7 separate regions of the Homo sapiens genome follow, and regions 1, 2, 3, 5, 6 and 7 are each linked to region 4. The links are contacts of gene promoters, found by promoter capture Hi-C in blood cells and fetal thymus (Javierre and others, 2016). All regions are on one chromosome and are shown on one strand. Each heading gives the region's core, a stretch centred on a gene start or on the middle of the fragment in contact. The rest is flanking DNA. Distances are from core to core; before and after follow the strand shown.

Region 1 (3,313 bases), core at 668-3,167, 180 kb after region 4:
GTCTGTTTTCTTCTATTCCCTCATAGCTGAGAGACTTAACCATGGTTTCAAGAAGGAACCAGAGGTAGAAAGTTGTCATTGAGAGATCTTTTTTTGTGTGTGTTTTGGATCATCAGAGTATAATATATTGGCTTTAAAAGGACCTCAGAGGTAGAATATTTTTCTATTTGAGACAGATTTCAAACATCCAGTAGCTGACTGTTTATCTTGTAGTTAGATATCTCTAGAAGAGGACATCTGTCCCTTTTTTAGAGTTATATTCCAGTGTTGGCAACCCTTTAGTTTCCTTTTTTGCCCAACTGAAAGCTGTGCTCATTTAAAGTGCTATTTAGGAGGGATAAGTAGAAAACATTAAGACTGTCCTCAAAATAAGTCTTTGGTCTTGAAACAAGTTTTAATTCATTTCCCAACTTTCATCTGTTCTGTTCTCTAATCTATATGAGGTAATTTTGTCTTAAAAAATAGTTTTGTTTTTCCTAGTTTACAAATTCAAAACCAGTTTGAATCTGTAAGGCAAGGAGGCCTAGTCCAGAGTTTTCTGTCTCACGGGAGCTATTAGGCTGTTGTGGACTGGGGTCCAGCATTTCTTTTGGAATTATCCATCAGATCTGTGGATCCTAATATTATCTCTCATAACTGTTATCCGAGAGATTAGAAGTTTGCCACCCATGTGCCTGATAGTCTTGTTTCTAAATATCTTTCATATCATTGCTACTTTTTCATCCTCTGTTTTAGCCTCTCAATATCTCTTATGAAGACTACTGTAATCCTCCTTACTGGCCTTCCGGCCTCTGGTTTCCAGTCCATCTTCTATTGTGTTTGCAGGCTTGATTTGACTTGCAAATCTGATTGTGTCACTCCCATGTACAATTTGTGTTTCCCAAAGTAAAATTAAAACTTTTTTTTTGACATACAGGCTCTTTCATGATCTGGCTTCCTCGCTGTCTGCAGCTTCATCTCTTGCCTCTGCCTCCTCTATACTCTGCTCCAACAGTATTGAGCTACTTGTCATTCTCTGAACACTCTCATGTGTCAAACTATTTGCCTTTGCTTGACTGCCTTCAAAATTCCTTCACTTTTTAGACTTCTCAGCTCAAGTGCAATTTCCTTTTTTTTTTGTTACTGTTTTTAAAGAGAACAAGGTCTTGCTATGTTGCCCAGGCTGGCCTCAAACTCCTTGGCTCAAGCAGTCCTGCCTCAGCCTCCTGAGTAGCTAGGACTATAGGCACACAGCACTATGCCTGGCTTATTGCCCTTTGGAACCCTTCCCTGACTCTCCAGCAGATTGAGGTCTTTCCTCTGTATTCCTTTTTCACCTTGTATGTGTGTGTGTGAGAGAGATATGGCATTGTGCTGTATTTGGGTGTCTGCCTTCTCTCTGGAAGGTGAGCCCTTGAGGGCAGGGGCTGTCTTCTCATCTCTCCATCCTCAGTGCTGAACACTGTATATGTTAAATGGTGAGCAGGCCTATAGTCATGTCAGGAATAGTGAGCAATGATGTGCTAGGTTCTCTGCCAAGGTGCTGGGAATTCAACTGTGAAGCACACAGACGTGGCTTCTACTCTCACAGAGTTTGTAATTAGTGGGAAATACAGACAAGTAAATATGGATATGGTGCTGATGGAGAATTATTGGTGAGAATGGGAACACAATGTGCATCCAACCCTGCCTAGTGGTCCTGCAATAATATTTCTCTTATACATTCGCCTTCCTAAAGTAGGCTTCATAAATCACTCTATTTTTCCTCTTTTCCTTTATTCTTAGTTGGTGATCTTGCTTTTATTTTTTCACTAAAAAAAAGAAGTAGATAAGAATTCCTTCATCTTTTCACCACTGAATCATAACAGATCACCTACTTTTATACCCATACTCTCTGACTTCTCATGGTGGATGATGTGTCTCTTTCCTGTGAAAGCTCTGCTTGTGCAGAGGATCCAGTCTTCCCTTGCTCACTCAGGGACTCCGCTTCTGCAATTATTCCTCTGTTCCGTGTCATTAATTTCTGTTTCTCTCCTGGATCATTCCCATCATACAAACATGTTCTAATATTGTCTATTTAAAAAAAATCCGTTTGACCACAGATAATCTTCTAGCTACCATCCCATTTCCTTTCCATCATTACAGAATTTCTTGAAAGAATAATTAATGTTCCTACTTCCTCCCTTAACTATTCATTCCTTAACCCACTCTTGGTATTGGTCTGTCCTCACTACTTCACTGAATTACTTCACTGAAACTACTCTTGCCATGTTGCAACGTTTAGCATTTAATGTAGGTATTGGCTTCTGTGTAAAAGGAAAGTTTTTTCTTGAATACAACACTCTCCTGCTTGTTCTGTCTCACCTCACTGCTTTTTCCTTTCTGCTGTTTTGTGCTGGGCGCTTCTCTGACTGAGAGCATGGTTGTAGATACCTTCACTTTGTATTTTTTTTTAAATAGATAAACTTAAATAACACCTGTATACCTACAACTACTCCTTTATATTTTTAGTTTTGAACTGTCCCCCGAATTCCAAATTAGTAAATCCAGTTGCCAACTTGATGTCTTCACTTGATGTCTGATATGTACCTTGAACTTAACATGTCCAAGATCAAACCTGCTCATCCAGCCATCTGCCTCTTCACCAGTTAGTACGTGGTGTCAATGTTGGTTGTGGTTTTTTTTTTTTTTTTTTTGAGACATAGTCTCACTCTGTCACCCAGGCTGGAGTGCAGTGGCACAATCTCGGCTCACTGCAACCTCCATCTCCCGGGTTTAAGCAATTCTCCTGCCTCAGCCTCCTGAGTAGCTGGGATTACAGGCACGCTCCCCCATGCCCGGCTAATTTTTGTATTTTTAGTAGAGACGAGGTTTCGCCATGTTGGCCAGGCTGGTCACGAACTCCTGACCTCAGGTGATTCACCCACCTCGGCCTCCCAAAGTGCTGGGATTACAGGTGTGAGCCGCCATGCCCGGCCGGTTGTGTTTTTAAATGAAGAAATTTAAGTTTCCGGGGTCCCTTGATTTCTCTTATCTCCTGCATCTGTTTCATCAGCAAGCTCTGTCTTCTCCAAAATATAGCCTGTATGTCTTTATTTCTGTCCATTTTTACTACCATTCCCCTGAGCTCTTTGGGTCCTAAGTAATTCTTCTGCTTCTTTTTATTTTTTATATTTTTGAGACGGAGTCTCGCTCTGTTGCCCAGGCTGGAGTGCAGTGGCGCGATTTCGGCTCACTGCAAGCTCCGCCTCCCGGGTTCACGCCATTCTCCTGCCTCAGCCTCCCGAGTAGCTGGGACTACAGGCACCCGCCACAATGACCGGCTAATTTTTTT
Region 2 (3,414 bases), core at 652-3,151, 250 kb after region 4:
TTATAAATGAAAATTCCCCTCAGGTAGACTTAACTAAGGGGAAAATTCATATTCTGCATTTAGCTCCAGGGTGATCTGGAAGCTTCTCTCTGAGACTCTGTATCTGAATCTGGGTTGCACTTGACAACTAGACCTGAGCTTTTCTTAAGGACACCCCGAGCAACGCCAGCTGACCAGTGGTGCTCTGTATGTATGATCTAATAAGATCACTATAGCCTCTCTGTGACAGTACCTACATTATACAACCATGTATATTTTAGCATCCACATTGACACTCTCCTCCCAGACCCCACAGTCAAACTGTACATTTTGGCTTTTTTTTTTTTTTTGCTTCCTGCTTGCATATTCCCTTCAGAAAAAAAGAAACAAAGCAAAAGAAAAAAAAAGAGCCTGCAGTGTTAGTTGTCATTTGCAAGTCTAGATGAAACATTATTTATGGGTAAAATATTTTGCTGGCAATTTCAAGAGAAAAGAAACCTTAGTGCCAACAGTTAGACGCCCACACAGTTTGGAGTTAAACAGATCTCAACAAATGAACACAGTTATGAGAAGTAACACAGAAGTGACTTCAATCTAAGCCAAGTAATTATAATACTCATGCAATTTTGGAGGGCCAGGGGCTTACTTGTTCTCACTTGTAGAAATGATAAGCAATGTGTTACAGCAATGCTTTGCTGGAAGGGCACCAGAGAGCTATAGAAATAGAGCCTCATTTAAATATCTTAAATATAGGCACCTCTATGTTTAAAGACTTATTTAGAAATAGCTACTAGAATAGGCTAAAAATGTAAGTGACCAACTAGACTTGGTGTGAGACAGTTTTTGTAGCACGTAGGCTGGTCCTAGTGCAAATATTTTCAGAAGCAGAGGTTCCCCTTATGGAATCTGTTCCCATTATTCAGCAATTCTTCTAAGTTAAAATGAAATTTTTTTCTATTCATTTTCATTAACTCCTATTACTAAAAGCCTTAGCAAAAAGCTTCTCTTTCTCTTCTTGGTCTCTGATAAATAATTCTCTGCTCGCATTACCCTTTCTAGTATGCATTGTTGCTGTCTCTCCCCATCTTCAACCTCAGGCCCATTAAGTTACATGTACAGAATACATTTGTAGATTAGTAAATCAGTGCAAATAGTATTTAATTGAGGCAGCCTACCAGGTAAAACAGTCAATTGTGTCCCAGATCCAAAGGTCAGTTGCCTTGCAGAACCAGAAGAAACACTATGATTTGCTCAACAACAAAAACCAGATCAAACAGGCCAGGTTGGCAAAGCACTGAATAAAGAGCTGGCAGTGCTTCCTTTATGAATTAGGCCTGCATCACTGTTAATCTAGGTTTGGTCTGGAGTAGCCAAACTGACTTTCTACAAATCCTAAACTAACCCTCCTTCGTCTTTACAATCCCATTTTCTTTTAGGGGACCTTTGCTTTCCACTTTCCACTACAAAGTTCTAAACATTAACTGTGTATTTTCGATATATGTATAGAGCAAATACTCTCTGATTTTAGGTGTCAAAACAGCACTTGAATCTTTTCATCCAAGGAGACTCACAAAGTCCAGAATAGAGAATACGCCTCCTCTGTTGTGGGCATCACTGGATTATGTCATCAGAGAACTGTCTGAATTCTTGAATCCTCCTGAGACTGAGTCTATAGAATCAAAGTGAGGTAGGTACAGAGCTGGCATTGTCCAGTTAATTTGGCCACTCATTTCACACTGATAAAATAACTTTATAATAATCAATTATCAGACAAATTCCTAGTTTTCTACTTCACTTTTGGGCATTTCCCTTCTCCTGACTAAAGTGGTATGTGTGTTAGTTATCTGCTCAAGGACTTTAAACTGCAGCAAAAATTAGTTTTAGTATTTCCTAAGGAAGTGATGATAGTATAAGAGAGCCATGCCCAAGAGAAATCAGGGTAAGCATTGTCATATCTGGGAAGAAACATGGAATCCACCTCCAGAATGTAAGTTTCATGAAGGCAATATCACACTGAGTTTGCTTCCTGTTGGATCCCTGGTTTCAGCAACGAGCCTGGCAGAGGGCAAGTACATGAAAATATTTGTCAGATGAATCTTGCGGACTCTTCAAACTTCAAGTTTGAGCCAACTGACAGGTTTGGCAAATTAGAGACCTAAAATCTAGTTCTAGCTCAGCCATAGACTGGCTGTGGGGCCGGGATCTGTCTCTTCCCTGAGCCTCAGTTTTCTCATCCATGGAGAAAGTCAAAAAGGAATGTTGTCAAGGTTCTCTCTGCTCCGTGAGGCTACGCTGTACGAATTTTTGGCTGAAAGTCTCAGAAACAGGAAGTGTCCCTCAGTAGTCATGAGTAAACTTTTTAAAAAAAAGTGGTTTTTCAGACTTTGAGAGAGACTAATCACATTACTTTTGGTTAATGATCATTATTTACAAGGTTCTTTCCTTCTATAAATTGACATAATCTTAGCCAAATAGAATAGTGCCTTAGAAGGTTTGTTAAGGAATTAGAAATCTTGTCACCAATTACTGCACAAATCCAGGGATATGATCCCAGCCAATACAACAAGTAGCCAGTCATACATTTTAGTCCCAACACATATATTCAGGAGCAATTCCCAGAGGCACACTTACATAGCCCATTTTGCACTGAGATGCTAGATCCTAGCCAGGACGACGATTGGCTTCCTATTTGATGCTCATCCCCCTCTCTAAACATTCTTCATATGGTGTATAATTGGGTCTAAATCAGCCCTTAATCCACAGACATTGCTTAATCCAGGGATACAATTTTATACTTACTGGGTTTCACAGATAACTCCGTTCCCTGTCCGAAGATAAGCTTTCCTCCCTGGTTATAAATCACACTGTGTTACATATCCTGTCAAAAACACATCCAGTCTGCCTGAACACATTTCTAATCCTCCACCCCCAAATCCACAGCAGATTGCTCCCACACCACAGCATGAATCATGGCTATCCTGCTTATTGTAACTTTTTTCCTTATAAGGGAAATAAGGGTATTCACACAGGAGACTGATAGAGAATAATGAGAATTACTATTTATCCAAAAACGTTTCTATTTAACACCAGTCTGATCTCTCATTTTTGCTTAATGGCTTTGGGTACTGCTGTTCAGGGAAATGGCTTCCTTTCAGATGTGTTTCTCATAGTCTCGGCTAGAAATATTTGGCATGCAGGGCATGCCAAATACTAAGGGCAGGTGAGGCTCCAGGGAATGGGGCTTACCTGGGGTGACCACAACCTGGGTCCCTGCTCCAAACTGGAATTTCCCCCAGCTGTCAGTTGTCACACTGTGACAAACACCTCTACAAAATGGCTTCCCCAGAGAAGACAGCTGCTGAATGAAGACAAACTGCTCATGGGGAAACAATCTTGCTACAAAATGAGGCAACTGCATGATATGAGATATAAGCT
Region 3 (3,557 bases), core at 92-2,591, 140 kb before region 4:
TAGGATTATAGGCAAGCACCACCATGCCCAGCTAATTTTTGTATTTTTAGTAGAGACGGGGTTTCACCATGTTGGCCAGGATGGTCTTGATCTCCTGACCTTATGATCCACCCACCTTGGCCTTCCAAAGTAATGGGATTACAGGCGTGAGCCACTGCGCCCGTCCCAGTTTCTTTTTTAATATATTTTTTATAGAGACAGGGTCTTGCTATGTTGCCTGGGCTGGTCTCGAGCTCCCAGGCTCAAGCGATCTGCCTTGGCCTCCCAAAGTGCTGGGATTACAGGAGTGAGCCACTGCACCTGGCCCACTTAACAGCAATTTGCTTGCTTGCTTGCTTGCTTTTCCCTCCCTCTGCCCTCTCCTCCCATCCCTCCCTCCTTCTCCCTTCCTTTCCCCCCCACCGCTTTCTTTTTTCCTTTCTTTTTTTTTTTTTTTTTTTTTTTTTGAGATGAAGTTTCACTCATTGCCCAGGCTGGAGTGCAGTGGCGCGTTCTCAGCTCACCACAACCTCTGCCTCCGGGTTCAGGCGATTCTCCTGCCTCCCAAGTAGCTGGGATTACAGGCATGTGCCACCACCCCTGGCTAATTTTGTCTTTTTAGTGGAGATGGTTTCTCCATGTTGGTCAGGCTGGTCTGGAACTCCTGACCTCAGGTGACCCGCCTGCCTTGGCCTCCCAAAGTGCTGGGATTATAGGTGTGAGCCACTGCGCCCAGCCTCTTTTTTTTTTTTTTTTTTTTTTTTTTGAGACAGAGTCTCACTAGGCTGCCCAGGCTGGAGTGCAGTGGTACAATCCCAGTTACTGCAACCTTTGCCTCCCAGATTCAAATGATTCTCCTGCCTCAGCCTCCCAAGTAGCTGGGACTACAGGCGTGTGCCACTATGCCTGGCTAATTTTTGTATTTTTAGTAGAGATGGGGTTTCGACATGTCGGCGAGGCTGGTCTCAAACTCCTGGCCTCAATTGATCCGCCTGCCTCAGCCTTTAAAAGTGCTGGGATTACAGGCGTGAGCCACTGCCCCCAGCCTAGCACCAATTTGTAACTCTCCTGGGAAATGTTAGTGGAGCAGATGTTGGGTAACTGAAGTTTGACATCAAAATCTGTCATGCTGATCTCTTCCTTTTAGGTAGTTTCCTTGATTCCTTTCTTACTCCCTTTGTTAGGAAATAAGGGTGCTGAAAATCTGGCTAGATAATCAAGTGGTTTGATTTATTCCTTGTCCACCTTTGTTCCCTTTGCCCATTGGAATCTGTGTGTCTGCCACCTTATACCTTGTGACATTTTCCTGGTGAATGCCTCAGGATGAGCAACAAAGGAAAGAAGTTAAAAAGGATTATCCTAGCAATACCACCAGCAGCACCAGCAACAGTGGCAATGAGACCAGTGGAAGCAGCACCATCGGGGAGACAAGCAAGTGAGTGTGGGAGGAAGAAATGGGTTGGCAACTTGGGGAAGGGAAACAGTTTTGTCCATTGGAAAAATAACCAGAATAGGGAGATTGTTTCTGTTAAGACTGCTGACTGTTAGTAATGGCTCCACCTAGGTCATGAGAATAATGGTGACTTGATTTAATTATCTAGTCTTCATTTTCCAGTGTAGATTTGTGGATTAGTCCTAGCATCAATATACTTCATTTGAATAAAATACCAAGAGGGGCTGGGCGTGGTGGCTCACACCTGTAATCCCAGCACTTTGGGAGGCCGAGGTGGGTGGATCACCTGAGGTCAGGAGTTCGAGACCAGATTGACCAACATGGTGAAACCCCGTCTCTACTAAAAATACAAAAATTAGCTGGGCGCGGTGGCAGGCTCCTGTAATCCCAGCTACTCAGGAGGCTGAGGCAGGAGAATTGCTTGAACATGGGAGGCAGAGGTTGTAGTGAGCCGAGGTCGCACCATCGCACTCCAGCCTGGGAAACAGAGTGAGACTCTGTCTCAAAAAAAAAAAAAATAGCAAGAGGACCCCTGATTTGGAAACACCAGGTTTTGCTTCGCATTAGGGGGAAAAATGGCCTCTTCAGATGCCTGACAGCTTTCAGGGCTGTAAGTTGGTATTGTGCAATTGCTGTGAACCACTGCTGGATCATCTTCGGGTCTTTGGTTTTTTCATGCTTTCTGTTTCATTCTGGCCTTACTGTAATTCCTTTTCTTTGGCAGCAATAACGAAACCTTCTCTTTAAGAATTTACACTCCTGACCTGGCGCGGTGCTCACGCGGGGCTCATGCATGTAATCCCAGCACTTTGGGAGGCTGAGGCAGGTGGATCACTTGAGGCCAGGGGTTCAAGATGAACCTGGCCAACATAGCGAAACCTTGTCTCTACTAAAAATATAAAAAATTAGCTGGGCATGATGGTACATGCCTGTAATCCCAGCTACTCAGGAGGCTAAGGCATGAGGATCGCTTGAACCTGGAAGGCGGAGGTTGCAGTGAGCCAAGATTGCACCACTGCACGACAGAGCGAGATTCTTTCTCAAAATTAAAAAAAAAAAAAGAAGAATGTACTCTCTTTCACAGGAAGAAGAGGAGTCGGAGCCATAATAAAAGCAGGGATAGAAAGCGCAGGTCAGTAATTCTGGGCCAGGCACAGTGGCTCGTATCTTTAATCCTAGCACTTTGGAAGCCAAGGCGGGAGGATCACTTCAGGCCAGGAGTTCAAAACCAGCCTGGGCAACATAGCAAAATCCTGTCTCTACAAAAAATTTAAAAATTACCCAGGTGTAGTAGTACATGTTTGTACTCCCAGCTACTTGGGAGGCTAAGGCTGGAGGATTGCTTGGGCCCAGGAGTTCGAGGTTGCAGTGAGCCGAGATTGCAGCACTAAACTCCTGCCTGGGCAACAGATGGAGAACCTGTCTCAAAAAAAATAAAAATAAAAATAAAAAATTGAAACATTTAGCTTAAAACACAAACACATTGTACAACTCTACAAGTTTTCTTTATGTCCTTATTCTATAAGCTTTTTTCTATTTTTAAATTTTTTTGTCTTTTACTTTTTAAACATTATTGTTATTGTTGAAAACTACGACACAAAGACACATGAGCCTAGGCCTGCAGAGGGTCTTTCACCTCCACATCTTGTCCCACTGGAAGGTCTTCAAGGGCATTAATACACATAGAGTTGTACTCTGCTGTAACAGTGCTTTCTTTAGGAGCACCTTCTGAAGGACCAGCCTAAGGCTGTTTTATAGTTAACCGAAGTAGAAGTAATATATTCTAGAATGATAAATATAGTAAATACATGAATCAGTGACATCATTACTTTTTATCGTGAAGTATATACTGTACGTAATTGTTTTATTTTTAAACAATTTTTAATTGATACATATTGTATGTAGTTTCTGGTATGTGTGAAATTTAATACATATAATTTGTAAAGATCAAATCAGTGTACTTGAGTTATCCTTGACCTAAATGTTTATCTTTTCATGATGCTAGGAAACATTCAAATTATTCTCTACTAGCTATTTTGAAATGTATAATAGATTATTGTACACTGTAGTAATAACCCTACTGATTTGTTGAACACTGGGTCTTATTTTTTCTTTTTTTTTTGAG
Region 4 (3,690 bases), core at 24-2,523:
AACCTGTGTGAAAGAAAGCCTTGTATTATATTTATTCAGTAGCGAACACAAAGCAAGTGAGATCTTTTTATAATAACCAGTACTGGGTTCTGTTCTCTCTACTTCTTGTTCTTCCAGGTTAGCCTAGTGTCTGCAGATTTCAAGCTTAAAAAGGACATCTCATTTTTATCAATAGTTAGGAAGAGAAGTTACTTTGAGTAAGAATCCATGACTTCCCTTCATGCTGGGAAGTTATTTCTTTTATCACTGTTTTCCAAACTTCAGCCATTTGAATATCACTATCATGATTTTTGCCATATATTAACATGAAACAATTGCTTTTCTTTAAAACAGCTCAGAAAACCAAATATAACATCTCTCCTGTTGTACTTTCAATCATTTCCCCACTGAATTGAAAATCCATCCTAAGCAGAGATGCTATCATTTTGGAGAGCTGTGTGGAGCGTGGACAAGAACTCTGCTCCATATTCCCCCTGCTCCCAAACAAAACAAAATATGAAACCAACCAGGAAACACCACTCCTAATATTGCAGGAACGAAAGGCCTCTTACCTGGACTTCTGCAAAAGAGATAGCAGAGGTACTGAGGCTGCGGGGGCCGGAAGCCGCAAGGAAGAGGTAGTGTGGGCGACAGCAGCACGGGGCTGCTGGGAATAGGAGCCGTGTGGTCAGCGGTTTCCCAAGCCATTGCGAGGGCCCTGCGACGCTGTGGACCTGAGCGTGTAAAAGGATGATGGAGCCCCTTTACCGGGAGCAGAAGTCCTCGCGTGGGTGCAAACGGGATTCATTATGCTAACTCCCCAAGAAGCAGGCAGCTCGGCCACTACAGGGGAGGACATTGCTATCACCGCGCGCAGACCGCTAGCCCGAAGGCATGCAGCGGGTGGTGCCTGCAGAGCGAAGCTCGAACCTGGGTTCCCCGCATCTCAGTTATCGCAGACCCACATCGGAGGGCCCTGAGAACGAGGCCGAGGTGCTCTCGCCAGGAGCCAAGCCAATTCCAGAAGCTGACACCGGGCTGCTGGGCCCATAGTGTCGGGGACTAACCCTAGCGCGTCCTCACATGACCCGAGGTCATGACATTCAGGTCCCGGTGAGCAGGTCAGCGTCTGCTGATACCCCTAGCACGAGCTGTCCTGGGGCCTGGTTCACTGGGTCAGGGCAGCATCCCGGTGCTCTGCCCCGGGGCATCCTTACCCGACGCCCGGACTGTAGCAAGCGCAGAAGCTCCCGGCGTCCGCACATTAGTCCCATCGCCATTTTGCCCGGAAGAGGACTTGCTTTTGCGCCTGCGCAGTAAGAACCACAACCCCTCGAGAGGAAGCACTTTTGGAGGCGGGCATGAAGCCAGAATTGTAGCCGCAGATCAGGCGGTAAAAGAGAACGGAGCTTGGCGGCCATATTTGAAGTGGGTAAAAATCTGTAAAGCCACGTTACCATTAGCACGCAGAGAGCCTTTTCTGGAGATTGAAAGGAAGTTGAAGAGCTGGGTTAGCTATCATCGTAAGCTATCATCGTTAGTGATGGCGTAAACCTGGGTAATTTTCCTCTAATGTCGCGATTGTCCTCTGATTTGTAAGTTTAAAAATAGCCTCAGAAAAGGCTTGGCTGTACTTGCAGAGGATTTTTCCCACTCAATGATGTTCGATTCTTTTGATTCTTATTGCTAGGTAATATTGTAATCGCAGGTCCAGTGAAATTTGAGGGTAGTCTAGAGTCTGACAGAAATTAAAAGAAGGCAGCTTCTGGGAAATATTTTCCTCCCAGATAAAAAGACGAAGCTTCCAGAGGAGACTTCACCTTTCCATTTTTTTCTTCTGTAAGTGGGGTGGTGTGAGGACTGACCATGAGGGGACAAGTTTCCAGATGAAAAGCTCACGTGCAGGCCGGGCGCGGTGGCTCAGGTCTGTAATCCCAGTACTTTGGGAGGCCGAGGTGGGTGGATCACGAGATCAGGAGGTCGAGACCATCCTGGCCAACATGGTGAAACCCCATTTCTACTAAAAATACAAAAATTAGCCGGGCGTGGTGGTGGGCGCCTGTAATCCCAGCTACTCGGGAGGCTGAGGCAGGAGAATCACTTGAACCCGGGATGCAGAGGTTGCAGTGAGCCGGGATTGTGCCACTGCACTCCAGCCTGGGCAACAAGAGCGAGACTCCGTCTCAAAAAAAAAAAAAAAAAGGAAAGAAAAACTCACGTGCTGAAGATGGTTGAGGGCAAAGATAGAAAACACCCAAATACTTGATGATATCATTGAGCTGCTGTACCATGCTTGGAACTGCCTATCTCCAGACTTTGTTGTGTAAGTTAATTAAAGGTCTTGGCCGGGTGCAGTGGCTCATACCTGTAATCTCATCACTTTGGGAGGCTGAGGTGGTCTCGATAACTAGGTCAAGAGATCGAGACCAGCCTGGCCAACATGGTGAAATCCTGTCTCTACTAAAAATACAAAAAACAAAAAAACAAAATAACTAGGCGGGCGTGGTGGTGCATACCTGTAGTCCCAGCTACTAGGGAGGCTGAGGCAGGAGAATCGCTTGAATCCGGGAGGTGGAGGTTGCAGTGAGCCGAGGTGGAGCCACCTCACTCTAGCCTGGGCGACAGACTCCATCTCAAAAAAAAAAAAAAAAAGATGATTAAAGGTCTTTACTGTTTAGACTCTAAGTCTGTTGCTTGGGTGTTCTGTTTCTTGAAGTTAAAAGCATTCATCTTCAGGGAAAAAAGTTACTGGTCAGAAAGGTGGAGTTTGATTATGTTTGAACCCTTACAAAGTCTCTCAATATGCAGATTACTTTCTAAACAACAAATTATAGTTTCAGAAAGATACAATAACCTGAAATTATTTCAGTGACTGCTCATTTGGAACGATTATGAATGTACCTGACAGATATGGCGAAAATAGGAGGCAAAGAACTATAATACTGATTTAGTAATAATTAGTGGTATGAGCTAACACTTGCATATGTTGGATGCTATTATAAACATCAATAGATTTTTGATATGGAAACACTGATTTTTTTTTAGAGATTACTTTTAAAACTCAATACAATTAGAAGTAATTACAAATATACAGCTACAGAACACTTGGCAGGGTGACTATCTTACAGTACACTGCTACTTTGGTGGCCCCAAATGAACCAGGCTTCCCAATATTTGCACCTTTAGGAGTTCTCTTCTCTTGAGTCTGATTGGGCCTGTCACTTGCTTTAATCAATAGTAGAATGCGTTGGAAGTGATGTTATGCCAGTTTGGGACTATGCCTTAAGAAGGCCTGATAGCTTCTGTTTTTGCATTCGGGGGAAGCCAGCTGCTGTGTTAGAAGTTTGACTTCTCAGACTTACTGCCTGTGAAAAGCCCAACCAACCATGTGAAGAAGAACTGAGGTTTGGGCCAACAGCCTCAGTTGAACTCCCAGCCAGCAGTCAACACCAACTTTTGCCAGCCACGTGAAGAAGGCCATTTAAAAAGTGGATTCTCCAGCCCACTGGAGCCACCTCAGGTGACTGCGTGTGGAGCAAAGAAAGGCTATTTGAGCCCACATTGCAAAATTACAAGCAAATAAATAAAATTATTGTAGTTTTAAGCCACTAAGTTGTTTAATAATAGATAGCTAAAATGTACAGGCAAACTTGGAAGATACTGTGGGTTGGGTTCCAGACCACTACAATAAAGCCAATATCATAATAAAGT
Region 5 (3,743 bases), core at 197-2,696, 140 kb after region 4:
CATGCAGGGTCATGTGTGCCTGTAATCCCAGCTACTCAAGAGGCTGAGGCAAGATAATTGCGTGAACCTAGGAGGTGGAGATTGCACTGAGCCGAGAGCGCGCCACTGCACTCCAGCCTGGGTGACAGAGTGAGGCTCTGTCTCAAAATAAAAAAAAAAAGCTTCATTTTGCAAACCCTTCAATCCTGCAATCTTACCTCAAGGAAGGAAATAATTGGTCAAATATGCAAATATGTACGTACAAGGGACTTAGCGCACATTGTTTATAACATACAAATATTTGGAAGCAATTTAAAGTCCAAGAACAGAGAAGCAGGTAAATGAACTATAGTAAATCCAGACAGTGGAAGAAGATGCAACAGTTAAAAATGATGATATATTTCTATGGATTCTATATTTATTGGTATAGAAAGAGATTTATAACAATAAGGTTAAAAATTTTTATAAAGCACTTTGTTAGTATGCTCTCATTCTAGTAAATATACATTTATGTATATAATAACATATATATCATCTGAAAGAATATATTCCAATGTATTTAACATGGTTATTTGTGGGTAGTATAATTATAGATTTTTTAAAAAGTGTTTTTAATTTTGTCTTATTTTTGTACAATTAAAAATTTTTGTTTACATTTAAAAAAAGGAAAAATGTTCTCAGAATTGAACCCAACACTCAAATCAGGTTACAGTGAAACCATTGAGTCCCCCAATCAATGCAGGGAATGAGACCTAGCTTTCCATTAGCTTTTGGGGCAGCTTCATTCCTTTACTGCCATAAACAGAGCTTCTAGCCCACTAAAACCTTCACATCGGTTTAATCTTTTCACATCAACTGCCATTGCTTTACTAGTTTGGTTCATTTTTTTCTATCTTTTTTTTTTTTTTTTTTGGAGACATGGTCTGACTGTGTTGCCCAGGCTGTGGTGCAGTGGCACTCCATAGCTTCATAGCTCACTGCAGCCTTGAACTTCTGGGCTCAAGCAATCCTTCTGCCTCAGCCTCCCGAGTAGCTAGGACTACAGTCACATGCCACCATGCCCAGCTAATTAAATTTTTTATTTTTATTTTTACTTTTAGCTATGGAGTCTTGCCATATTGCCCAGGCTGGTCTTGAACTCCTGGGCTCAAGCGATCCTCCTGCCTCAGTCCCCTAAAGTGCTGGGATTACAGGCGTGAGCCACCACACTCGGCCGAGGTTCATTTTTCTCATGTGAAAGACTTGACATTCATCTCTGCCCACACTTTGATCATATCAGAAAACAACCTGTGCAGCCGCTTTCTGATTGCTGAAGCCGCTTCATTCTTCCTCAGCAGGACCCTTTGAGATACAATTGAAACTTCATGTTTGAGAATGCCCTGTCCCTTTTAAGCACTATAGATAATTTTCCTTGGAACATTCTGAAATCTGACTTCCTGAAATCTATAAAAATTACATCTGACAATCTTTTTTCAATATTCTAGTAAACGCAATTGTGAGTAGAGCAAGAATTTACTAGGTGCTCTGCTTCTGGCAGAAAGAGACTCATGTTAGTGTCCTGATTCTTGGAGACCTCTGGCACTACTGTAACTTGCTTTTGATGTTTGGCAGTCTGAACTAAGAAAGCAGCATCTGTGTCCTCCAATTATCTTAGTATCTATTTCTGTTTGTTTCTCCTTTTATCCCCATCCAAACATTTCCACCTTCAGTTCTGTGGTTTCCTTTTTGGCATACATGCTATTGTTGAGTCCCTTCAATTAGATTCACTTCCTCTGAACAGCGTTATCTTTCCACGGTCCCCTCCAGTCATGGGATCCACATGATTGACTTATCTATCTTCTTGTCATAAAATTCAAGTTCCTCTCCCACTCTGGTCTTCTGTAATATAGCCAGCACTCCCCAGACTTTAGGATTTTAATAATATTAATTACAAATACAGGAAAAAATTCTAAAATTGATATGTTTGGAAACAAAAAATGACATTCCCTCTCACCCCCAAACAATCGTAGAATATCAGCATCTTTTTATAAAATAACAATAGTTTAATCCTGAAAGGGTTAGAAAGGATATAATTTCAGAATTTAAAAATACTAAAAAAAAAAAGGCACTATTTTGTTATGAACCAGAAATACTTTATCATGGACCAGCTCCAGTCTGTGGATCTATGTAGGAAGCCACTGCTATAATATATGGTTTTGCAGTTACATTTGGACACTTTCCTTGAACATTTTAGAAAGTACATGATGCCCAGTTTTTGTGTTAGTTACCTCATAATTTATCAGAGGCCCATAAATCTATCATAAGTTGTGAGCCCTCTCAAAAATTCTTTTCCCAGACACAACACATGGTGTCAGCTGGTCAAACTGAGAAGATGAAAATATCACCTCTAACGCCATATCCTTCAGGATCCTTTTCAGCCACTAGCATGTCTCAGGATTCTTCTGGTTGTGTGTGATTTGTTCTCATATTGTTATAGTTTGGATATCTGACTCTTCAAATCTCATGTTGAAATTTGATCCCCAATGTTGAGATGGGGCCTAATGGGAGGTGTCTGGGTCATGGGGCAGATTCCTCATGAATGGCTTGGTGCTGTCTGTGTGGTTATGAGTGAGTTCTTGTTCTAGCAGTGCCTGGGAGAGATTGTTAAAACAAGCCTGGCACCTCACTTGTTTCTCTCTGGCCTGCGCTGCCTTGTCATGTGATCTCTGCACACTCCAGCTCCCCTTACCCTTCCAGCATGAGTGGAAGCTTCCTGAGGCCCTCACCAGAAGCAGATGCTGATGCCATGCTTCTTGTACAGCCTGCAGAACTGACAGGTTTTCTTTTCTTTATAAATTACCTGGCCTCAGGTATTCCTTTATAGCAGAAGAAACAGACTAAGACACATATATACCAACTAAAATATGTGGTTGCTGAATTATCACAAACTCTCCATTAGGCCTCAGAATATTCCAGGAAGAAGGAGCATCAGCCATCAGTAAGGTGAAGTCTACAGATCTCCTAGGCCTTTAGCAGAGTCACCAACCAAGATAATGGGGTCCTTGTGGGTTGGGGAACAGACTCTGTGCACCTGCTGACATCTGTTAATCCTCCTTAGTATTCTCTCCAGGAATGAGGAAGGTCTTTCCTCCTTAACCCTAGTGAAGAGTGATATTTAGCAGGATGATGACAAAGATCTGTCTAGCATAACAATGCTGAACTTATACTATGAAAAACACTTGGGGTGGAGCCAAGATGGCCGAATATGAACAGCTCCAGTCTACAGCTCCCAGCGTGAGAGACGCAGAAGACGGGTGATTTCCGCATTTCCAACTGAGGTACCAGGTTCATCTCACTGGGGAGTGTTGGATAGTGGGTGCAGGAGAGTGGGTGCAGCGTACCGAGCGTGAGCCGAAGCAGGGCAAGCCATCGCTTCACTTGGGAAGTGCAAGGGGTCAGGGAATTCCCTTTCCTAGTCAAAGAAAGAGGTGACAGACGGCACCTGGAAAATTGGGTCACTCCCACCCTAAAACTGTGCTTTTCCAATGGTCTTAGCAAACTGCACCCCAGGAGATTATATCCCGTGCCTGGCTTGGAGGGTCCTATGCCCACGGAGCCTCACTCATTGCTAGCACAGCAGTCTGAGATCAAACTGCAAGGTGGCAGTGAGGCTGGGGAAGGGGCGCCCGCCATTGCCAAGGCTTGAGTAGGTAAACAAAGTGGCCGGGAAGCTCGATCTGGGTGGAGCCCACCGCAGCTCAAGGAGGCCTGCCTGCCTCTGTAGA
Region 6 (3,574 bases), core at 166-2,665, 220 kb after region 4:
ATCTTCTCTGACTACTTTTCAACCAATTTTATTATCAGATGTATACTTAGGCTACTTTGCATGTGCCTTGATTATTCCCAAGATCATGCCTTCTTTCTTGTCGTTCCCTACGCCCAGAACTTCCCTTCTCTCCTTTCTCTGCCCATACAGATCTTATCCATCCTTCAGGGCTCAATGAATCCTTTGTACCACAGGAAACTTCTCAGTCTAGGCCAACTTCTCAGCCAGCACCCTATCCCCTCTGAATCTCTATTGTGTCCATTGACATCATCAACTGGTCAATACTAAAATAGTTTTCTGGCTGCTTAATTTACAATAGTTCAGTACCTTTGTCTAGTTTTTATACCACTTGAGGACAGGACAGGAATCTATCTCACACTTCATACTCAGTCTAACATTTTATAGAGTGATAGTCACATAGAAGGCATTTTACAATACCCATTGAATGATTAAAGTCAAATTTTAATGTGTTTGACCTAGAGAAACATGAATATTCAAGATAGATAGTAATGCTTTTCCCTTCCCAGACCTCTGTAAGAAAATTAGTTACAACATCTACAGCAAGCCTCACCATAGTAATAAGTGATATCTCCAGAGAAAGGATTAGTGACACTGGCCCATGGGGTTGCACGTGGTGCCACCTGGGATGACTCACCAGATATAATGAATACATGGGTCCCTTTCCCAAATGTGAGTTTATCAATTGTTCCTCCAGTATTCATACCGTAGGTGACACCATTGCACAAACTCACAGGACCTACCTATTACTTAAATAAGAGAAACACTGATCTCCCCCACAAGGCAGGAGAACAGGATAATCACACTCCTAAGGGTTAGACCTTCTTTTTTTTTTTTTTTTTTGTTTTTTTGAGAAGGAGTCTTGCTCTGTTGCCCAGGCTGGAGTGCAATGATGCGATCTCAGCTCACTGCAATCTCTGCCTCCCGGGTTCAACAATTCTCCTGCCTCAGTCTCCCGAGTAGCTGAGACTACAGGCGCGTGCCATCACGCCCGGCTAATTTTTGTATTTTTAGTAGAGATAGGGTTTCACTGTGTTAGCCAGGATGGTCTTGATCTCCTGACCTTGTGATCTCCCTGCCTCGGCCTCCCAAAGTGCTAGGATTACAGGCGTGAGCCACCACGCCAGGCCTAAACCTTCTGCTCTTTTGCACTGAAATTTCGCTTCTGATACAAAAGTTCTCCTCCTGTTCCATTCTGCTGTGATTCCCTGGGCTGAGGTTGTGACTTCATATGATTTCAATAAACCAATAATTCCCTAGAACAAAAACCTCAATTCCAGGCAGCAGTATCTTGGATATGTTTGTGGAAGGTTCAGGAGTACTCGCTCATTGCCTGCCTCATGGTTCCTAAGGTCCCAGCCTAAGGATGATGTCTGCAGAGCACCGAGAGCTGGATGGGAGGATTTTCTGGGGATGGGTGGAAGAAACCATTTTGGAGCCCACAGAGGAAAATACCTGGGTTCAAGTTGGCATTTTGGACAAAGAAGAAATAGTTGTCCGTCCTCCCTTGCTCTCCTGCTTCATTCTACTTACTTGGCCGGATGCTGAGTCTGGTCCCTGATCCAAAGATTATCTTGGAAGCACTGCTGTACCCCCACTGTGGGTAAGGTCTTTGAGATAACCTTCTTGATGCTAATCTGCTGGAAGCCACTGGGGTCCCAGAGCAACATTCTAAAAGGCTCCTTGGGTCTTTGTTGCTTACATCTTTTATTTCCCAAGGAAGCGATTCTCCTTTCCCTTTATGATAGTGTAAACCTTAGTATAAGCAAAGCCTCAATAATAATAATTATAATAATATTTTAGAAAAGCTACTACTTATTGATCACTTTTTACATTCTGGCCATTATCTCATATTATTATGATGTAGTTATAGTCATTTTGCTGCTGAGAAAGTGGAGGCTTTATTGAAAACAGCCAGTGAGAGTAGAGCCCAGATTTTCCCCAGGTCTGTGGGCCTCCCTCTACATTGCTGCCTCTATACCTTGTAATTGCATGTGGTATACTTGCCGTTCAGTTAGGGGTCTGGGCCACTTTTACCCTTAGGAGGAAGCTGAAAACTCTCCTAACTCCAGAGAGGAAGATTCTATGAGTAGGGATCCCCATACCATGTTTATTAGCCAATCCAGGGAATTTAGCTACATGCTGCAATAAAAGAGAATTTGTGTTTGCCATTAACTCATCTCTTTCCCCCAAGGGCACTTAGCTAATTTCCTGAATGTTCAGATTATCTGGTGCCGATATTATCAGCTTCACTTGAAAGCACTCATTATTTGGAACTCTTTTTATGTTTCTATAAATTATTCTGCTCAGATTTTCATTTACGCAATTGGCTCTTGGCACTTCTGTGTTTCATATGAGAAATGGGAACATTTTAAGTCACCAAGAGAGCTTGTAGGAATGGAAAATGAGTGCTTCTCAATATATCCCCAAGTTTGCTATAGATCATCACCTGTTTTCTCATAGACAAGTGGTCAGTTCTTTTTGCACTGGTCACTTGCAGGGTCATACTCACATGGGTGTACAGCCAGCCTGGTCCCTGCTCCAAAAATCAGCTTATTGTAGCCACCAGAAAACACACAATCAGATGGTGCTTTACAAGAACTCTGACCTGGGCAGGGCATGCCTGGCTGGGGCACTCCATCTCCTGTCCCTGTTTTCCAGGCTCCCCCAAGTCAAACTTTCTCTGACAAGAGAGAAAAGTCTCACCTACCAGGTCTTCATTCCACCTACTCACTCCTGAAGATGCATCAGAGGCCTCATTGATGCTGATTATTTCTTTCTAATCATCACGAAATAGCTTCATTTTATTTTGGCAATTGTTGAACACCTATGCAACTGTGCAGCAAATGCTCCAGCCACTGTCGGAACAGCTCCGGGGCAGATTAGTTGCAGGCGTCAACATGCAGGATCTACGATGCCCCAACACTTTGCAGGGTTTCCCTACTAGAAACAATGGCAACTTTAATGCCTTATTCCAAATGTGAATTTTTGGTCTTCTTTGTACACACCTTTCTAACACAACTTGGAGCTGTATATTTCCAAGATGATTCTGCTCCTAATGGAGAAAAGTTTCCTTAGAACAAATCTTTTCTAGGAGGTCTCTCAAGTGGAGACAGGCTTCATATATTTATCATTAGACCTCTTTCTTTTTTACTGCTAGAACTCATTTGTACTGCTTACTTATCGAGATATTGTAAACCTTCCACCTCTGATCTCTGATTCTTGAGAAATACGATAGGTTTCAAGCTTTATAAATTCAGCCTGAACCATGGCTGAGAAGAGGCTTTGATGAAGCACACATATGAACAGATAAATACAGAGGTGCTCTTCCCTGAGAGATGGGCCTTCTCCCACCACAGACATCTGGATGGATTCTGCAATCTCCTGGTTTTGAGGTCTAACAACTCTCTCTGTTAGAGAATATTTGTTAATGTATAAATCATAACTCATCTAGCCAGAAGGCATTTTTTTCCCCACAATCATTTGTTTGGTGACACCTATGTGCCAGGCATTGTGCTGAGCTGTAGAGCTGTGAGGATGAAAAAGGGTCCTGCCC
Region 7 (3,316 bases), core at 501-3,000, 200 kb after region 4:
TTTGGCTCTAGCAGCAATGTGGCCACTTCTGTTGCGGTTACTCTTTCTTCACCTTTTTCTTGCCAAAAATAAACTTATCTTTAAATGAAAACTAAATTATTTCTTATATTTTGGTCCTTTGTTATAGCTGAGATTGGGAATTTTTCTTTCTTTCTTGAATCCTTACTTCCCTACCCTGCCTCCCCACCAATGGAAATCTGTGCTTCATAAGCATTTTAGATTCCAGAAAGCTCTTTAGGTTAAACTACAACCCTCTCACCTCAAAGAATTTGTGGGCCAGGGAAGTCAGTGACTTATGTGAAGTCTTGCGGCTAATTAATGGTAGAGCTGGAGTTAGGACACATGTCTCACAGTTCCTAGTTCGTTTTGCTTTGATGTGCTTGAAATTCAGTTTTGACATTAATTTTTCTGGATACTACTCCCATAAAATGTTCTTTGAAAAATACTTGCTTCTTTCTAGTTTTTCTCGCCTGGTTTAAATATTGTCCTGAGTGTGGGAACCCCATAACTGTCTTGTGGGTTAGAATTTAGATGGAAGGATTTGGGGCCCTGTCTCTAGTATCATAAGACATTTAACCTTGCTGCTTTTTTCTTCTAGGTTCACTCTTTGAATTTCCTGGATAAGAGTTCTGGAGATGGCAGCTTATTGGACACATGGATTTTCTTCAGATTTGCACTTACTGCTAGCTCTGCTTTTTATGCAGGAGAAAAGCCCAGAGTTCACTGTGTGTCAGAACAACTTTCTAACAAACATTTATTAATCCAGCCTCTGCCTTTCATTAAATGTAACCTTTTGCCTTCCAAATTAAAGAACTCCATGCCACTCCTCCATATGCCTCTGGCTCTGTTTTTATTCTTTGCTGGTATCAGAATCCTTTTTTTCTCTTCAGTCCTCTGTGCTGAACTCTTTATGAGTTGGTAACTTACAGCTGTGAACCTGCCTCCTTGTTTTCATTAAGTATATTTGAAGTTAATGGCAAAAGGCAGTGCTGACAACCCTGGGAAATGGCAGTCCTTTGTCTTCTTCCTGGAGCAGGTAATCCTTTACTAATCCTTCGATTGTTACAGGTGCTTCCACTCTTATGACAGTGCATTCCTGGAACTGCATCATTATGCACTCTGCTAGAAATTGAACTAAGTATGTGCTACCACATTTACATCTGTTTCAACATGTTTTAGTGGTAAAAGTGAAATATATTTCTCTTAGGCAATGTAGACAGAGTGAAAAATGGGGGTTATGTATGTGTTGACTTATAAGATACAATATTTTCCAAAGCACCTTCACAAATATTCTCTCATTTTATTCTTGCAATTATCTTAGGGGTTCCTGTCCTCATTAGTTAGGTGAAGAAATTGAAACTCAGATTTGTGACTTGCTTAAGATCAGAGTTCATGACAAAGCTTGGATGGAATGTAGGTCTGCTGGCTGAAGTCTGTCATGTTCGCAGCCCTGTTTTCATCTTGGGTGCTGTTGGGTTGCTATATATGGGGCGGAAGCTATGTTGAGAATGCCACTACTTAAATTTAGCCAACTACCGAGAATGATGAGTTTCAAGCTTCTCCAACTTGGCTGCACGTTAGCATGACTTGGGTAATGTAAAAAGAAAATCCCAACGTCCAGGCCACAACCCACACCAATTAAGTAAAAATCTCTTGGGGTGGCTTCTGTAGTTTGTAAAGCTACCCAGGTGATTCCAGAGCACAGCAAATTGGAGAAACACTGCTCTGGATTCTTGCTACTCAAAATGTAGTCATTGACTACCAGTATTGGCATCGCCTGGGAGCACAGGCCTCACCCCAAACCTACAGAAGCAACATCTTCATTTTAACAAGGTCCTCCGGTGATTTATGTGCACAATAAGATTTGAGAATCTCTCATCTACAGCAGTGGTTCTCAAAGTTTGGCATGTCTCAAGATTACCTAGGAACTTGGTGAAAAGCTTGGGCCTGTATGTTTCTTATTAGCTCTCTGCCTAACTGGTAACACACTGAGTCAGGAGTCCGCAAGCTTTTCCTTAAACAAATGGGCATGGCTATATTCCACTATCACTTTATTTATAAAAATTGGTTGTGGCTATGTGGGTCATGGTTTGCCATTCTTAAGTGATACTAGTTCATTGAGATTATAACTGAGCAGTTTAATCTGCACTTTTTTTTTTCTTTTTTGTTTTTGTGAGATGGAGTTTTGCTCTCGTTACCCAGGCTGGAGTGCAATGGTGTGATCTCGGCTCACTGCAACCTCCGCCTCCTGGGTTCAAGCAATTCTCCCACCCCAGCCTCCCGAGTAGCTGGGATTATAGGTGCACACCAACATGCCCGGCTAATTTTTGTATTTTTAGTAGAGACAGGGTTTCTCCATGTTGGTCAGGCTGGTCTCAAACTCCTGACCTCAGGTGATCTGCCCGCCTCAGCCTCCCAAAGTGCTGGGATTATAGGCGTGAGCCACTGTGCCTGGCCTAATCTGTTCTAAAACTTATATACAGATGTCACAGACCCTATCAGGAGGCTTCTGGATAATTTTTAGTCTAGAGAAATTGGAATTTTGAATAAGAAAAGCATCTGGACTTTGAGACACGGGTTGAAAACTGGGAATAATAGTAATTTTATGAAGGAAGACATTGTAATTGCAGTCTTTAATACATAGGTTTTGTTTAATTTTTCATAATGATCTTGAGATACATGGGACAGGTATTAAATTCCCATTTACCAGGTCAGCTATTGTCTCAGAGGTTGTGATTTACCCAAGCCAGTTACCATCAACAGGAAACATTCTTCTTTGGTGTGTCTTTTCAATATTTGCTTCGGGGCTAAAACCTACAGACTGCTTTTGGAGTGTTGGGATTAGATTTAGTTAAAGGCTCATTATAGGTAACTCTTGTTTTTATGCTTCTGTTGATTTGCTTTATGGTTCTCAATTTGACATGTACTGAAGAATTAGCTGTGGACCTGTGAGTAGCCGCTGCACTCCAGCCTGGGCAACAATGTAAGACCCTGTTCTTAAAAGAGGCCAGGCATGGTGGTTCATGCCTGTAAATCCCAGCACTTTGGGAGGCCGAGGTGGGTGGATCACCTGAGGTCAGGAGACCAGCCTGACCAATATGATGAAACCCTGTCTCTACTAAAAATACAAAAATTAGCCAGGCGTGGTGGCATGAGCCTGTAATCCCAGCTACTCAGGAGTCTGAGACAGGAGAATTGCTAGAACCTGGTAGGCGGAGGTTGCAGTGAGCCGAGATTGTGCCATTGCACTCCACCCTGGGCAACAGAAGCGAAACTTCATCACAAAAAGAAAAAAAAAAAAGACAACACTGAAAAA

Evidence for each region. Contacts are between HindIII fragments. The CHiCAGO score rates a contact against its expected background, and 5 or more counts as called.
Region 1: a contact is called between a fragment that was not itself captured here and the fragment with the promoter of OXA1L in region 4, in 5 of 17 cell types (M1 macrophages, megakaryocytes, erythroblasts and 2 more). The highest score is 7.2, in M1 macrophages.
Region 2: a contact is called between a fragment that was not itself captured here and the fragment with the promoter of OXA1L in region 4, in 3 of 17 cell types (M1 macrophages, endothelial precursors and M0 macrophages). The highest score is 6.0, in M1 macrophages.
Region 3: a contact is called between a fragment that was not itself captured here and the fragment with the promoter of OXA1L in region 4, in 1 of 17 cell types (monocytes). The highest score is 5.2, in monocytes.
Region 5: a contact is called between a fragment that was not itself captured here and the fragment with the promoter of OXA1L in region 4, in 2 of 17 cell types (endothelial precursors and M1 macrophages). The highest score is 5.7, in endothelial precursors.
Region 6: a contact is called between a fragment that was not itself captured here and the fragment with the promoter of OXA1L in region 4, in 5 of 17 cell types (M1 macrophages, megakaryocytes, M2 macrophages and 2 more). The highest score is 7.6, in M1 macrophages.
Region 7: a fragment that was not itself captured here is called in contact with the fragment with the promoter of OXA1L in region 4 in 10 of 17 cell types (megakaryocytes, M1 macrophages, M2 macrophages and 7 more); the score reaches 16.3 in megakaryocytes.

What each region holds. Positions count from the first base shown.
Region 1 is chr14:22,582,368-22,585,680 of GRCh38, reverse strand. The region is part of intron 1 of DAD1 (defender against cell death 1); the gene reads left to right. Among named protein-coding and RNA genes, the nearest start is that of DAD1, 5.2 kb to the left of the region's middle. RefSeq lists an enhancer at 2,885-3,313. The HindIII fragment of the contact is 4,923 bases long and covers 1-3,313 here.
Region 2 is chr14:22,519,843-22,523,256 of GRCh38, reverse strand. It overlaps TRA, TRAJ24, TRAJ23 and TRAJ22. Among named protein-coding and RNA genes, the nearest start is that of LINC02332, 36 kb to the left of the region's middle. The HindIII fragment of the contact is 1,839 bases long and covers 982-2,820 here.
Region 3 is chr14:22,907,340-22,910,896 of GRCh38, reverse strand. RBM23 (RNA binding motif protein 23) reads left to right here. Exons shown (of 14, transcript NM_001077351.2): 3 at 1,302-1,414; 4 at 2,517-2,564. Among named protein-coding and RNA genes, the nearest start is that of RBM23, 10 kb to the left of the region's middle. The HindIII fragment of the contact is 3,239 bases long and covers 1-2,960 here.
Region 4 is chr14:22,764,271-22,767,960 of GRCh38, reverse strand. It overlaps OXA1L (OXA1L mitochondrial inner membrane insertase), which reads right to left and starts at 1,273. Exons shown (of 10, transcript NM_005015.5): 1 at 1,197-1,273; 2 at 552-713; 3 at 1-3. The coding sequence starts at 1,259. OXA1L-DT (OXA1L divergent transcript) reads left to right here and starts at 1,399. Exons shown (of 3, transcript XR_001750638.3): 1 at 1,399-1,537. RefSeq lists enhancers at 1,165-1,394, 988-1,551, 1,552-2,114, 2,115-2,678. The HindIII fragment of the contact is 1,636 bases long and covers 147-1,782 here.
Region 5 is chr14:22,621,220-22,624,962 of GRCh38, reverse strand. No RefSeq gene overlaps it. Among named protein-coding and RNA genes, the nearest start is that of OR6J1, 21 kb to the left of the region's middle. The HindIII fragment of the contact is 2,566 bases long and covers 164-2,729 here.
Region 6 is chr14:22,541,218-22,544,791 of GRCh38, reverse strand. It overlaps TRA, TRAJ4, TRAJ3 and TRAJ2. Among named protein-coding and RNA genes, the nearest start is that of LINC02332, 14 kb to the left of the region's middle. The HindIII fragment of the contact is 3,702 bases long and covers 1-3,266 here.
Region 7 is chr14:22,562,420-22,565,735 of GRCh38, reverse strand. DAD1 (defender against cell death 1) reads left to right here. Exons shown (of 3, transcript NM_001344.4): 3 at 599-829. Among named protein-coding and RNA genes, the nearest start is that of LINC02332, 7.0 kb to the right of the region's middle. The HindIII fragment of the contact is 384 bases long and covers 1,559-1,942 here.